2 separate regions of the Homo sapiens genome follow, and region 2 is linked to region 1. The links are contacts of gene promoters, found by promoter capture Hi-C in human tissues and cell types (Jung and others, 2019). All regions are on one chromosome and are shown on one strand. The core of a region is centred on a gene start or on the middle of the fragment in contact, and the rest is flanking DNA. Distances in the headings are between cores, read along the strand shown.

Evidence for each region. Contacts are between HindIII fragments. The study calls those that stand out against the background at their distance.
Region 2: a fragment that was not itself captured here is called in contact with the fragment with the promoter of LIPH in region 1 in 1 of the 25 tissues and cell types used here (dorsolateral prefrontal cortex).

The regions. Positions count from the first base shown.
Region 1 is chr3:185,549,360-185,557,202 of GRCh38, forward strand. LIPH (lipase H) reads right to left here and starts at 3,229. Exons shown (of 10, transcript NM_139248.3): 1 at 3,064-3,229. The coding sequence starts at 3,112. RefSeq lists enhancers at 3,239-3,318, 5,470-6,145. The HindIII fragment of the contact is 12,609 bases long and covers 1-7,843 here.
Region 2 is chr3:185,404,810-185,412,652 of GRCh38, forward strand. The region is part of intron 1 of MAP3K13 (mitogen-activated protein kinase kinase kinase 13); the gene reads left to right. Among named protein-coding and RNA genes, the nearest start is that of MAP3K13, 46 kb to the left of the region's middle. The HindIII fragment of the contact is 6,044 bases long and covers 1,968-7,843 here.

The sequences.
Region 1 (7,843 bases), core at 1,979-4,478:
CAACTTGTTAGAGAAAGATGAGTCACCACACAGGCACAGTTCCAAATCATTCTAGAGGATTGCAAATATCTGAGGAAATAATTCTGGTTTTGGCATTAAACAATTTTTTCTGGGAAAATATCTATCTAGTTTTACAGTTGCTATGGGCCAAAATATCGATAGCAGAGTAACTTTTAAAAATACTTATGTCAAGCAGTCTTAATTTAGAACAATATTTTAAAACCTATGTTTGTTTCACCACCTGCAGCTGAAAAACCCTGAGGAATTGTTAAAAATGCAGATTCTAGGCCAGGCACAATGGTATGTGCCTGTAAGTTCCAGATACAGACAGGGCGGGAAAATTTTTGAGACAGGGTCTTGTTCAGCCAGGCTGAAGTGCAGTGGCTACTCAGAGGCACAGTCATAGCTCACTGCAGCCTCCAACTCCTGGGCTCAAGCGATCCTCCCACCTCGGCCTCCCCAAGTGCTGGGACTACAGATGTGAGCCCCTAGGACCAACCAAAAAAATTTTTTAAGATGTAGATTCCAGGATCTCACTCCCAGATCTACTAAGTTTGGATTTTTGGAGGTGGAGTCTGCATTTTAATCAAGCCCTCAGGGGATTCTAGTGTACTTTAGTTTGTTAGCCATTGCTTTGTTCACTGGTAAGATTATGGCAAACATTCCTAACATTATTTCACAAAGATTAGAAAACAAAACAAACATTTCTGAAACTGAATGACTTGTATCCTTGGGATTTCTGAAGCCCATTTTAATGCTTGTTAATTTTTGAACTGCAAGCAGAAGGGAAAAACAAGAAGTCCATGTATTTGAGATTAATAATGTCTGCTACCAGATGAATATTATTCAACACCCTCCCTAATGAAAGTTCCAAGTTTATGGTTTCCTAGACACTGAGAAGACTAGAATTAGCTTACAGCTATACTATTTTTTTTCCTTCTACCTACAGAAGTTTATTCTTGTGTGTCTCTGTCTGCTGAGATTCTATCATGCAGCAGTGACAGTCTTCTAGAATCTAGCAGTAAAACAAGACTTTACTTCTGAGAAGATGCTAAGGAAAAGGAAGGTCACAAAAAAATTAAGTTGCCATTTTTTTCAACTTTATAAATGGAGATACATAATGAAAGACTGGAAGAAGGTACCCACAAGCCATCTTGTGTTTTTGTGTTAGGGTTGTCCCTGACCCATTTAAGATACCTCTACATTTATATTATTATATATTTTTTTTGAGATGGAGTCTCACTTTGTTGCCCAGGCTGGAATGCAGAGGCACGATCTTGGCTCACTGCAACCTCTGCCTCCCAGGTTCAAGAGATTCTCCTGTCTCAGCCTCCCGAGTAGCTGGGATAACAGGTGCATGCCACCAGGCCTGGCTAATTTTGTATTTTCAGTAGAGATGGGGTTCACCATGTTGGCCAGGCTGGTCTTGAACTCCTGACCTCAGGTGATCCACGCGCCTTGGCCTTTCAGAGTGCTGGGATTATAGGCATGAGCCACTGCGCCTGACCATTTATCTTAATTTTTTTAATTTAAAAATGATAATAGGCCGGGCGCGGTGGCTCACACCTGTAATCCCAGACTTTGGAAGGCCAAGGCGGGTGGATCACAGGATTGAGACCATCCTGGCCAACGTGGTGAAACCTCATCTCTACTAAAAATACAAAATTAGCCAGGCGCAGTGGCGCACTCCTGTAGTCCCAGCTATTTGGGAGGCTGAGGCAGGAGAATCGCGTGAACCAGGGAGGGGGAGGTTGTAGTGAGCCGAGATCACGCCACTGCACTCCAGCCTGGATGACAGAGCAAGACTCCATCTCAAAAACAAACAAAAAAAATAATAAACATATACTTTAAAATATCGAGTTCTCAGTTAAAAATATCATCATTGGTATGATTTTAACTTACTAGAAAATCAACTTCAAAACCATATATAAAGAAAAATTTATAGGCCAGAAATCCTAATACTATTTTTCCATTTCCCTTCTAAACTTCATTCACATATGCATACATACATGATTTTAACATAGTTGTAATTATAGTTTACCAACAAATTTAAGTTCTACTTTTTCTACTTTGCATTACTTTAAAAATGTTTGCTTATTTCTGCATATCATCAGAATCAGTTGAAAGGCTACTTTAAAAAAATTAAGTTGATATACTGTCTTTTATCCATTCCTGTATGTAGAAACATTTTGGTTATATCTAGTTTCAAGTTATTGCAAGTAATATAGTTAGACTTATCTCTGCATAGGAGGCTTTTTTCTTTTAAAAGTTATGCATTTAGAATAAATTCCCAGCAATGGTTTTACTAGCTTAAAGTATATGAACATTTTTACAAGTCTTAATATATAACATATTTACCCTTTGCCCTTCAAAAAAATTATATCAACCTTCATTACCACAGCTATCTGAAACAAAACTGAATACCTAAAAAGGTTGCAAAGTGTTGAATTTTATTTTTTTAAGCATTTCACTTTATTTTTGTTACATTATCTGGTACATTAGGGTTTTAATTTTGATTTCTTCATTATGATTAATAATTTTTAAGTTATAAGAATGCCAGGAACCATTCCAAGGAGTTTATCTATATAAAATTATGTTTTCTCTAAGAATAATTTAAATAAACTCTCAATGCATGAAAATATAAAAACCAACCCTTGATATATTAAATATAAGATAGATTTTTATATTTCCAGAAAATAAATCATCTCATTTCACAGAACTAGAAAGGCACAGATAAATAGGCTAAGAAAGAAAATAAGACTTCTAGATTTTTCAGCATATTTGATTGTTGTAAATAAGAAGAAATTAATTCAAAGACATAATAGCTTCTTTTATTATTGAGAAATTTTTTTCAGGATGAGAAAGTTCATCTAACCTGTATCTTTTTTTTTTTTTTTTAAGGAAATGTTAAGGAAATGATACAGGCTTCCTATATCTTTTTCCTTAAAAACGACTCTATGGACTTAAGTTCACCGAAGGAAGTGGAATGATGACATGCAAAATGACAACACAACTAATTCTATTTTTTAAGCAGTTAAGAAAACCAGTTTGTAAATAACCTACCTGATCTTGACAAGCACAACAAACTGATGAATAAGTAGAATCTCAACATATGGAAACTGGAGAGATCGTGTGTCACATTCACAAGAATGATTTACTTCGCAGAGGCTTAAGAGTTTCCACTGTGGGATTTTGCTCACAGTGAGCTCAGACGACTCAGAGGTGTGGTGACAACAGGAAGTTCCCTAGGGACTGACTGCAGGCAGTCCCAACCCTTTCAGGATCTTTGACTCCTCCTCTTTTCAATAAAAGGTCACTCATTGTCTACTTTATACAATTTTGTGCATATCTTAATATTATAATCTGCATCTGCAGAATGACGAGTTCAGAATAGTTTCATTCTTCGTGGGCGGTTTATTAGTTGTTTGGCTTGGTGTGTTGAAACCAAGTGTGACTTGAGATCTTTTCCCCTTGGTTCTTGTGAATGAAATAACAAATCCAGTTTGTATCTGTTGGCCTGTATATACAAAACCAGTTTTTATGTTAATTCATACACTCATTCATCATAGGGCAGTCTTTAGATTTTAAGAACATTTCATTAGGTCCAATTATACATCTACATTTGCCAAAATATATGTATGCTTCAGATTAAAAGAAACTTTTTTTGGTATTATATATCTTTATTTGTATTTCTTCCTACCGAGAATTTCTACAGCTCTAATAGGTCTTTTTTAAAAAAGAAAAACAGGCCGGCACGGTGGCTCACGCCTGTAATCCCAACACTTTGGGAGGCTGAGGCGGGTGGACTGCTTGAGGTCAGGAGTTTGAGACCAGCCTGGCCAACATGGCGAAACCGTCTCTACTAAAATTACAAAAATTAGCCGGGTGTGGTGACACGCACCTGTAATCCCAGCTACCTCAGGAGGCTGAGGCACAAGAATTGCTTGAACCCGGGAGGCAGAGGTTGCAATGAGTCCAGGTCACATCACTGCACTTCAGCCTGGGCGACAGAGTGACTGTCTCAAACAATAAATACATAAATAAAAAGGAAAAATAAATGAAAAACTTTCAAATAGAACCCCATGCCAGAATCTATGTATCTCAGGGATAGAGGTAACTAAACTTGTGCTTCATAGCTCCAAGGTAATTTAATTCCCTTTCTGGCGAGAGTGCTTGCAACACTAACTCAGGCTTCTAGTGGTCTGATGAGCTTAAAAATCAATTAATAAGCCGGGCGCGGTGGCTCAAACCTGTAATCCCAGCACTTTGGGAGGCCGAGGCGGGCGGATCACGAGGTCAGGAGATCGAGACCATCCTGGCTAACACGGTGAAACCCCCTCTCTACTAAAAATACAATTAGCCGGGCGTGGTGGCGGGCGCCTGCCAGCTACTCGGGAGGCTGAAGCGGGAGAATGGCGTGAACCTGGGAGGCGGAGCTTGCAGTGAGCCAAGATCGCTCCACTGCACTCCAGCCTGTGCAACCGAGCGAGACTCCGTCTCAAAAAAAATAAATAAATAAAAAATAATAAAAAACATTAATATGCTGGGCGCGGTGGCTCATGCCTGTAATCTCAGCACTTTGGGAGGCTGAAGGGGGTGGATCGCTTGAGCCCAGGAGTTCCAGTCCAGCTTGGGCAACATGGCAAAAACCCATCTCTGAAAAAAAATACAGACATTCTTTAGTGCACCTGTGGTCCCAGCTACTAAGGAGGCTGAAGTGGGAGGATCACCTGAGCCCAGGAAGCAGGAAGTTGCCATGAGCCAAAATCATACCACTGCACTCCAGCCTGGGTGACAGAGTGAGACCCCGTCTCTAAATAAATAAATAAATAAATAATAAAGACGCAACTTAAGAAAACATTTCATCCAAAGCATCAGGCAAAAGCAATTAGTCATTTAGCATTGTCTACCTGAAGTATGGGTTTGTGAAGTAATAGTACCGCTCATATAAGTTTATCTATTAGTTCTCTTCATGTTCCCACCCCATTTGAGTAGCAGGAGATTCCTTTGCAGGAAGTAGATTCTAGCAATGCTTCCCAAGAAGTCAGTAAGTCAGAATCACCTGGGGGCTTTTAAAAGTACTGTGTGCAGATTTCTGTGTCACACATCAGACCTAATGAATACCAAGACTGCCTAGGGCTGACTTATTATACTAACCTGAGTTCAAATCCCTTGTCTTCCACTAGCTTAGTTGTGTAGACTTAGGCAAAACATTTAAGTTCTTTTTTTTTTTTTTTTTTTTTTTTTTTTTTGTGAGACGGAGTCTCACTGTCGCACACGCTGGAATGCAGTGGCGCGATCTCGGCTCACTGCAGGCTCCACCTCCCGGGTTCACGCCATTCTCCCGCCTCAGCCTCCCGAGTAGCTGGGGCTACAGGCGCCCGCCACCACGCCCGGCTGATTTTTTTGTATTTTTAGTAGAGACGAGGTTTCACCGTGTTAGCCAGGATGGTCTCATCTCCTGACCTCGTGATCCGCCCGCCTCGGCCTCCCAAAGTGCTGGGATTACAGGCGTCAGCCACCGCGCCCGGCCCGCCGCTTTCTTTTCTTTTCTTTTTTTTTTTTTTTCAGACAAAGTCTCACTCTACCACCCAGGCTGGAGTGCAGTGGTGCAAGCTCACTGTAACCTCGAACTCCTAGGCTCAAGTGATCCCCCTGCCTCAGCTTCCCTAGAACTACAGGTGTATGCCACCACGCACGGCTAATTTTGTGATTGTAGAGGTGGGATACTTGCTACATTGCCCAGGCTGGTCTCAGAACTTCTGGATTCAAGTGATATTCCCACCTCAGCCTCCCAAAGTGTTGAGATTACAGGCATGAGTCACCGTGCCTGACCCAACATTTAGGTACTTAAAGTCTGTTTTCTTAGCTGTAAAATGAAGATAATAAAATCACACATTTCACAGGGTTGTTATACGGACTAAATGAGATATTACAGCTAAAGTCCTTAGCACTGCGCTAAGGTGAGCGCTCTGGCAGCTTGATAACTGTTGTTATTATCTAGCTGGCCACACATCTGTACCTTTCCTATCCAGCAGAAGGCAGGCTGCACAATGTTGAGAAGAGAGACTTAGACAGGACTTTTAGGACTGGGGGCACCCTAAGTCTTGGGTCTTCAGGTGAGAGACTTCAGTCACCACTTCAGCCTGTTTTTGGTTTTGGTTTTGTCTCCTGCTTGGAGAAATAAATTAAGGAACTGTGAATAAGTGAAACCAAATAGGTCGGGTGTGATGGCCCAGGCCTGTAATTCCAACACTTTGGGAGGCCAAGGCGGGCGGATCACCTGAGGTCAGGAGTTCGACACCAGCCTGGCCAACATGGTGAAACCTCATCTTTACTAAAAATACAAAAGTGAGCCAGGCGTGGTGGCAAACGCCTATAATCCCAGCTACTTGGAAGGCTGAGGCAGGAGAATCGCTTGAATCTGGGAGGTGGAGGTTGCAGTGAGCCAAGATCGCGCCACTGCACTCCAGCCTGGGCGACAGAGTGAGACTCTGTCTTGACAACAAAAAAAAAAGAAAAACCAAATAGATGGCCTGTTAGCCTGTCTATTTTTCGCTCAGCTTTTGTTTAGTTTAGAGAAAAATTTGCTTTTATTGCTGTAAGCTTTACTAATTTGAAAACAACTGCCCTCTGGAACAAATGGAGACTTGTTTCACATCTCTTTTAGGAACCTGTTAGGGAATTCCTTGCTCCCTGTTCAATCAGTGTACTTGCCTGATAAATATTTGTTAGGTCCTGTGAGTTTTAAGTACCATGCCAAGTGCTTATCTACACAGAGCTAATGTACATTTTCCTGGAAACTATCCAATTATAGGAAAGGGAATCATTTCTGTTGGGAGGATTCTTTGTGTTACTTTTTGTTGTTGTTGTTGTTTTTGAAACAGGGTCTCACTCTGTCATCCAGACTTGAGTGCAGTGACTCCATCACAGCTCACTGGTCTTGACCTCCTGGGCTTAAGGGATTCTCCCACCTCAGCCTCCTGAGGAGCTGGGGTCACAGGCACATGTCACCATGCCCTGCTAATTTTTTAATGTTTTTGTAGAGATGGTGTCTCACAGTGTTGCCCAGGCTGGTCTCAAACCCCTGGACTCAAGCAGTCCTCCCGCCTTAGCCTCTCAAAGTGCTGGGATTACAGGCATGAGCCACCGTGCCTGGCCTCTTTGTGTTACTATTAACGATTTTCCTGCTGGTGGGCACAGAAGGTCTCTAACTTCTTAACGTGCTCCTTTCTATTTTAGGCTTTCAGAACAGCACAAAAATCGATGGGAGAATCTGTCCCTTATTTTTTTGCAATAGTGAGAAATATCAAATATAAGAAAACATAAAACATTCCCGAGAATGGGGAGAGGAGAGGCAGGGAGGAGAGGAGAATGGGTTTGACTGTAGAAGAATCTTTTAGTTGGCCAGGCTCATGCCTGTAATCCCAGCACTTTGGAAGGCCGAGGCAGGTGGATCACCTTTGTCAGGAGTTGGAGACGAGCCTGGCCAACATGGTGAAACCCCGACTCTACTAAAAATACAAAAGTTAGCTGGGTGTGGTGGCAGGTGCCTGTAATCCCAACTACTCGGAAGGCTGAGGCAGAAGAATTGCTTGAACCCAGGAGGTAGAGGTTGCAGTGAGCCGATATTGTGCCATTGCACTCCAGCCTGGGTGACAAGAGCAAGACTCCATCTTAAAAAAAAAAAAATCATCTTTTAGTGATGAAATAATTGTGTATCTTAATTGTGGTAGTGGCTATGTGGTGGTGGACAGGTGATAAAATAGCACAGAACTACACACATTTACATGTGAAACTCTAAATGAGATCTGTGGATTGTCAACCAGGGTCAATTTTTTTG
Region 2 (7,843 bases), core at 3,740-6,239, 140 kb before region 1:
CAGGTGATCCGCCCGCCTCGCCTCGGCCTCCCAAAGTGTTGGGATTACAGGCATGAGCCACCGCGCGCAGCCCTATGCTTGGTTTAATACTCTGTTATCTCCATCTTGAAATTCTTAATAATTCTTAAACAAGGGGTCTTTCATTTTTTAGTTTGTACTGGCCCTGCAAATTTTGTAGCCCATCCTACTGGCAATGTATAAAATTGTAAGTTCTTAGTTGATGTTCTCACTAGCAATGCATTTCAGTACATTGAATATTTCTTGTGTCATGCCTTTTTTTGCTCTAAGGCCAGCATGCTTATTTCTACCTGACTACTGTTAGATTTCTAGAAGTGGTTCTGAAGAATGTGTCCCTGCCAATGAATGACTTAAGAGAAACTCAGCCTCAATTTTATGCCATCAAACAATGTTATTTTGCTATTAAGGTATATATGCATTATTTAATGTAATCGCATAAATTCAGAAACTACACATTTGCACATTCCAATTACTGTGGTCTTGAACAAAAGCTTTCTGATCATTGCATAAGTAATGAGTAATGTTTTCTATGAGGCCAAATTCTTTTGATCAAAGAAAAGAGACTCGTTAGCCCAGCATTCAAAACCTTTTATGATGTGGCACCACCCTATAGTTACAGCAGTGCTGATCACTGTTCTGTATGCACCTTATGTTCCAGCTCTTCCAGACTGTTTGCTATTCTTGGAAAATGCTATTTATTTTCTTGCCCTCCATTCTTTTCTTTGCGCAGTTCTTTTGGCCAGAATATATGTCTTCTTCCAGACAGCAGCCTCATCTCTCTCCATCCTTCACTCGTTCTTCACTGGTGTAACTCTGATTCTTTCTTCAAGGCCTCACTTTCTTGCTCAAATGTCTCTTTTTCTGTGAAGTTTTCTCTGGTAACTCAATCATAGTTGCTGCTTCCCTTGCTGTGCTTATACTGTGCTTGAAGGCTAAAGTCTGCCTTACATTGTACTTGCTTACTTGCTTATCTGACACACTAGTTTGTATGCTCCTTGAGGGTAGGACTATCTGACCGGGTCTATTCCATCATCCATGGCATCATAACGTGATGTCTGGCACATGCTCAATACATGTTTACTGAGTGAGGGAACTGGAAAAGCACTGAGTGTTAATTCTCTAAAGTGAAACAGCTAGTTGACGTCAGTTGATCTTGTTAGAAATAGTTTTGACTTTTAGAAGCATTTTTGTAAGAGAGAAATAATAAAAGCAGGGCTGTCAGTGGGAATGAGGCCCCCTAGAATTATACAATGTCACGACCCTGGGTGAAAGAGTAGTAAGAGTTCAATATCAGAAGAGTTTAAAAGGATTGGAAGGTCCCAGAGTAGCCAGGAAAAATTACCTAAAACAGTTTGAAGTCAGAAAAACAGGAAGCCCAGGGTGCCACTTGACTCTTAATTTAGCCCTTCCTAGCCGGCAATTTAGTTCCCAGCCATTCTTTTTGTAGCACCTTCCTTAATTAAATTGTACTGCCATGTCAAGAAAAGCCTTGAAATAAAGCCAGTAACATGGAAGGCATATTTAGAAGTATGCTAAGTGCATTTTTATGCTAACACTTTAACTCTCAAACTAAATTCTAGCTATTGTGCAATTTAAGTCTTCTCTCTTGATTCTTTTGTAAGAAAGAAAGAGGGAATAAATCAGAATCTGAATCTGAATCTACTGGGATTAAAAAATAATCAGACTATTCTCTGAGCTTGTCTGTAACCACAGCCAAGCATGCCTTCTAATTTTGTCAAATGGGATTAGACATATGTAGGCTAAGGGAAAAAGCCACTAATCCCAAAGCCTAGATGGTACAAAGTATTGTAGATGGCTTAATTTCTAAGATTTTGGTACTATTCTAGCCCTATTGTCATTTCAGTTATTATGTGAAGAAGGTCATTTAACAGACTATATGTAAGGATTTTGTGATTTTTCCCATAGGTATTTAATAATGACTTATTTTCATATTTTAAATTTTGGTGCTCAATTCATTTTCGTCTTCTGAGATTGAATGGATGCCCTATTGCAATAACTATTCTCACTAATGAACCGGCTTGTTTTCATGCTAGGCAAGTAAAAAGGGGATCTGTGGAAAAAAGCCTTGAAATGAAAGCCAGAAATCATAGAGTGGGGCTGGATCATTCCAGAAGAGATGTGGGGTATATTCTCACAACATTTTTATCCAGTAAAATAAAGATTAAAATTTTATATTAAAAGCATGCCTAGAAAGAAAAGAAAATTACAAAAGAACAGTAGAAACTCTAAAGATTATATGGGAAGGACACTCTAAGTTGATTTGCCTCAGTAAATGACGGAAATTGTACATGAGCTGATTATCTATTTGTCTGTGAACCTTGGATATAAATAATGTTTCTTTTTTAAACCATTTTTTGCCACCACCAGACCCTAGATCTTGAGCCTTAACCCACCTCCACTTTCTGGAGTGGGAATCTCTAAGGTTGGCTTTCAGATTCTAAAGATATGTAATCGTGACTGTGCTAAACTCTTACCTCATTTTGCTGTCTAGACCTATGATTATTAATTTTCATTTGGAAACACTCAGGGGTACCTCTGTCTCAAATGGTGCTAAAGGATTCTAAATACAAAATTAACTCTATATACACAAAATAGAACGTTATAACTATAAAGCAGAGTGACTGCATTTTAACAAAGTTTGCCACACCATGCGCAATTAAATGGATTTTGTCAAAGACTTCTTAAGTGTCTTTGACAAAGTATCAGGAAAAGTATCAGTGTCCAGCAGCTTGTTGATGCCTTCTGGTGATTCTACTATTGCTCAGGACAGCGTGGGGACTTTAGCTTCAGAGTGCGTTTTGCCAATTTCAGCGGTGGAATTAAGGGGGAAGAAAGCTCAAGTGTGTTCCCTCTTCCCCACACCTTGCCCCTATTAATCAGTTCCCACACCTGGCCCCTATTATTTGGTTTCTGTCCTTATAGTGTTGTCTTTTCTGTAAATGGATTTCATATAAATGGAATTATACAATATGTAGCCTTTTGTCTTTGCTCATTTTAGATTTCCTTGTAGAATTTTGAGAATTTTTTTTTTTTTTTTTTTTTTTTTGAGTGTGGGTCTTGCTTTGTCACCAAGGCTGGAGTGAGGGGGCATGGTCATAGCTCACTGTAGCCTTGAACTCCTGCGCTCAAGTGATCCTCCCACCTCGGCCTCCCAAAATACTGGGATTACAGGTGTGAGCCACTTTTTTTTTCTGCCTTACTTTTATCTTAGTAGCGTCTGGCATGGGCAGAGCAGAGATAAAATGTTTATGTTCAACCTATCACATTTAACTAGAAATCTTGTTTAATAGTTTTACAGGAAAAAAATCAGAAAGTGGGAGTATAGAGTGAAATCTTCCAATTTTGCAGTTGAAATCAAACTTATTTCATGAGAGAAACCATTTGAAGCTTTCAGGGTCTTATTTATGGTAAGCTCTCAATAAAATGCCAATTCGGCCAGGTGCGGTGGCTCACACCTGTAATCCCAGCCTGTAATCCCCTTGGGAGGCTGAGGCGGGTGGATCTCTTGAGGTCAGGAGTTTGAGACCAGCCTGGCCAACATGGTGAAATGCCATCTCCTCTAAAAGTACAAAAATTAGCCGGGCATGGTGGCGCATGCCTGTGATCCCAGCTACTCAGGAGGCTGAGGCAGAAGAATCACTTGAACTCTGATGGTATAGGTTGCAGTGAGCCGAAATCATGCCACTGCACTCCAGCCTGGAAAACAGAGTGAGACTCCATCTTAAAAAAAAAAAAGAAGCCGATTAGTTTGATTTGCATCTACAACAACCCCAAAAGGGAGGTTTAGTATATCCTGTATACAAGTGAGGCAACTAGAATTCAGAATATTTACATAACTGTCAAAGACTTCACAGCAGATAAGTGGCTAGGAATCAAACAAGGTATTTCTGATTTGAAAACCTGCACTCTTTGCAATTACAGCACATCATAAGCATTATGTAATAAACATGGGACAACAACTATTTATAATATACCAGGCTTCATTACGATCTGATTTATTACAGTCCTAGGGCAACCTTGCACTAATGGGAGGTTAGTCATGAAATTTGCTCTGTGTGCTGTTTTTGGCCAACTCACTACCACATTGGGCATCATCAGAAGGCGTCTACCAATGAAATGTATAAATAAATAAATATATATGTATATAAAAAGGTGGACTAGAGTTGGACATAGATCAAACAAGGGCAACTGAGATGATTCAAGGAGCGTGTGTCCTGCCTTAGAATTGCAGACTGGAGGCCAGGCCTGGTGGCTCATGCCTGTCATCCCAGCACTTTGGGAGGCCAAAGCAGGCAGATCACTTGAGGTCAGGAGTTCAAGAGCAGCCTGGCCAATATGGTGAAACCCCGTCTCTACCAAAAATACAAAAATTAGCCAGGCGTGGTGGTGTGTGCCTGTAGTCCCAGCTACTTGGGAGTCTGAGGCAGAAGAATTGTTTGAACCCAGGAGGCGGAGGTCACAGTGAACTGAGGTCACACCACTGCACTCCAGCCTGGGCTACAGAGCGAGACCCTGTCTCTAATTAATTAATTTAAAATAAGCTTAATATCTCTGATTATCAGGGAAGTACAAATCAAAACCACAATGAGATATCATCTCACCCATTAAAATGACTATTATCAAAAAGATAAAAACATAAACGCTGGCAAGGATGCATAGAAAATGGAACTGTTATGCACTGTTGGTAGGAATGTAAACTAGTACAGCACTATGGAGAACAGTATGAGCGTTCCTCAAAAAAACACACATAGAACTGCCATATGGTCCAGCAACCCCACTACTGAGTATTTACCCAAAGGAAAATGAACCAGTATACTGAAGAGATATCTGCACCCCTATGTTTATTGCAGGACTATTCATGATAGCCAAGGTATGAATCAACCCATGTCCGACAATAGAAGAATGGATAAAGAAAATGTGGTATATGTACACAATTGAATACTATTCAGCCATAAAAAAAGAATTAAATCCTGTTATTTGCAGCAACATGGATGAGCCTAGAGCAGCAGTCCCCAACCTTCTTGGCACCATGGACCAGTTTCGTAGTAGACAATTTTTCCACAGACTAGGGATGTGGTGGGTGGTGGGTGGGAATGGTTTGAGGATGAAACTGTCCCACCTCAGATCATCAGGCATTAGTTAGAGTCTCATAAGGCGCGCACAACCTTATGAGATCCCTCGAATGTGCAGTTCACAATAGGGTTTGCCCTCCTGTGAGAATCTAACGCTGCTGCTGACCTGATGGGAGGCAGAGCTCAGGCAGTAATACTCGCTCGCCTGCTGCTCACCTCCTGCTGTGCAGCCTGGTTCTTAACAAGCCACAAACCAGTACCAGTCTGCGGTCTGGGAGCTGGGGATCCCTGGCCTAGAGGACATTATGTTAAGTGAAACAAGCCAGTAACAGAAAGTTAAACACCACATGTTCTCATTCATACGCAGAAGCTAAGAAAGTTAAACTCATAGGAGTAAAGAGCAGAACAGAGGATTCTAGAGGCTGGGGAGGATAGACAGGGAGGGATTTGTTAAAGGATACAAAATTATAGCTAGATAGGAGGAATAAATTCTACAGCTATAGCGTCCCACAGCACTGTAGGATGACTATCGTTAACAATAATATATATTCCCAAATAGCTAGAAAAGAGAATATTTTAATGTTCCCAACACAAAAAAAGATAAATGTTCAAGATGATGTATATGCTAATTACCCCAATCTGCTCACTATGTATTGTATGTATTGAAACATCACTATGTATCCCATAACAATGTACAATTATTATGTGTCAATTTTTAAAAATTAAAAAATAGGCCAGGTGTGGTGGCTCATGCCTGTAATCCCAACACTTTGGGAGGCCGAGGTGGGTGGATCACCTGAGGTCAGCAGTTCAAAACCAGCCTGGCCAACATGGAGAAACCCCGTCTCTACTGAAAATACAAAAATTAGCCAGGCATTGTGGCGGGCGCCTGTAATCCCAGATACTTAGGAGGCTGAGGCAGGAGAATCGCTTGAACTCAGGAGGCAGAGGTTGCAGTGAACTAAGATCACACCGCTGCACTCCAGCCTGGGTGACAGAGCAAGACTCTGTCTAAAAAAAAAAAAAAAAGGTTCAGCATATGAATAAGATTCTTTCATGGAATATTAAGAGAAGTAAGTGATGTTTATGTTATACCCATTCCTTTTGTAAACAGATGTCACAAAAAACAATGACTCCCCCTTCAAAGCTATCATCGGAAGCAAAGTGTTAGGTAAAAGGGCCCTTGGTTTTTCCTGGCTTCTTCAAGTAGAGTTGTCTTTTCTTGTCCTTACTTTATGAGATGTCCTAACTGTAGATTATACCATGATTCAAGAACAGCTAGACATGCATACACATGAATTTGCAATCAGTTATTTAGAACACAGAAAAAAAAATCAGAAAATGAAGGGAAAAACATTTGCACATAGCCAGAATGTACGTCACAAAACCCATGTACAAAACCTCACAGTTTACTCATATGAAGAGTCATCAAGCCTTTGTACAAAATCTTATTACTGTTATTTTGCACACAGTTCTAACATGTTTGGGCACATGGTTTCCAAGCCCATGACAAATACTGACTTCTCAGGTAGATTTGCTGGACATACCACCTACTCAGGGAAATTTATTGAGAGCTATGAAATTGACATTTAATTAAACAACTAATACCAGACATTGAAACAACAGAAAATTCAAATTAAGCAAACAAGTACAATAATAAAACAATCATTAGCATTTCAGAAGGATTCTTCATTTTGCAAGTAGATTTATCAGTGATACTTCAAATAGTAATTTCTATTAGTGATTTTTAAATGTTATTTTAAAAATGTGATTTATATGCAACTTTTTAGGAGCACTTAATGAAACCATGTGCACTTGTAATGAATTCAAATTATGATTCCTAAAGGGAGGCAGTTATGTCTTTTTTTTTTTTTTTTTTTTTGAGACAGAATCTCATTCTGTTGCCCAGGCTGGAATGCGGTGGCATGATCTCAGCTCACTGCAGCTTCCACCTCCCAGGTTCAAGTGATTCTCCTGCCTCAGCCTCCCGAGTAGCTGGGACTACAGGTGTGTACAACACGCCCAACTAATTTTTGTATTTTTAGTAGATATGGGGTTTCACCACGTTGGCCAGGCTGGTCTCGAACTCTGGACCTCAGGTCATCCTCCCACCTCGGCCTCCCAAAGTGCTGGGACTACAGGTGTGAGCCACCATGCCCAGCCTAAATATGTCTTTAAATTCTACCTTTGTAATATTAACCTTTGTATTGAGGGACTACATATTGTTTTCTGTCACAAATAGTTTATTATTTTGCATTTATTTTTCTTTCCATTAGAACTGTCTTATATATTTATCATTTGTATTGAGAGACTACATATTGTTTTCTGTCACAAATAGTTTATTATTTTACATTTATTTTTCTTTCCATTAGAACTGTCTTATATATTTATCATTTTTTAGCACTTAGAATCAATAATTAATATTTATTGATGTTCTTCCTTGTCATCCTCATTTTGGACAGATGGGATTTATCTAGGATCCTTTAGCAGTCTGCAAATTTCAGCTATATATTGGGAGTAGAAATTGAAACTACCCTCAATGAATAATTAAACAATGGGTATGGATTACACTCTAGCACAGAGTCATTCCAAAACAGTGACATAAGACAAGTGAAAAATGGCCAATCTTTGACAATTTCAAATTTCTATTGTTGGTAAAGCTCAAAATGTTCTATCACACATTTTCTAGAGTATCATCTTGATTGAATCATTACTTTAAAAATTAAAGCTCA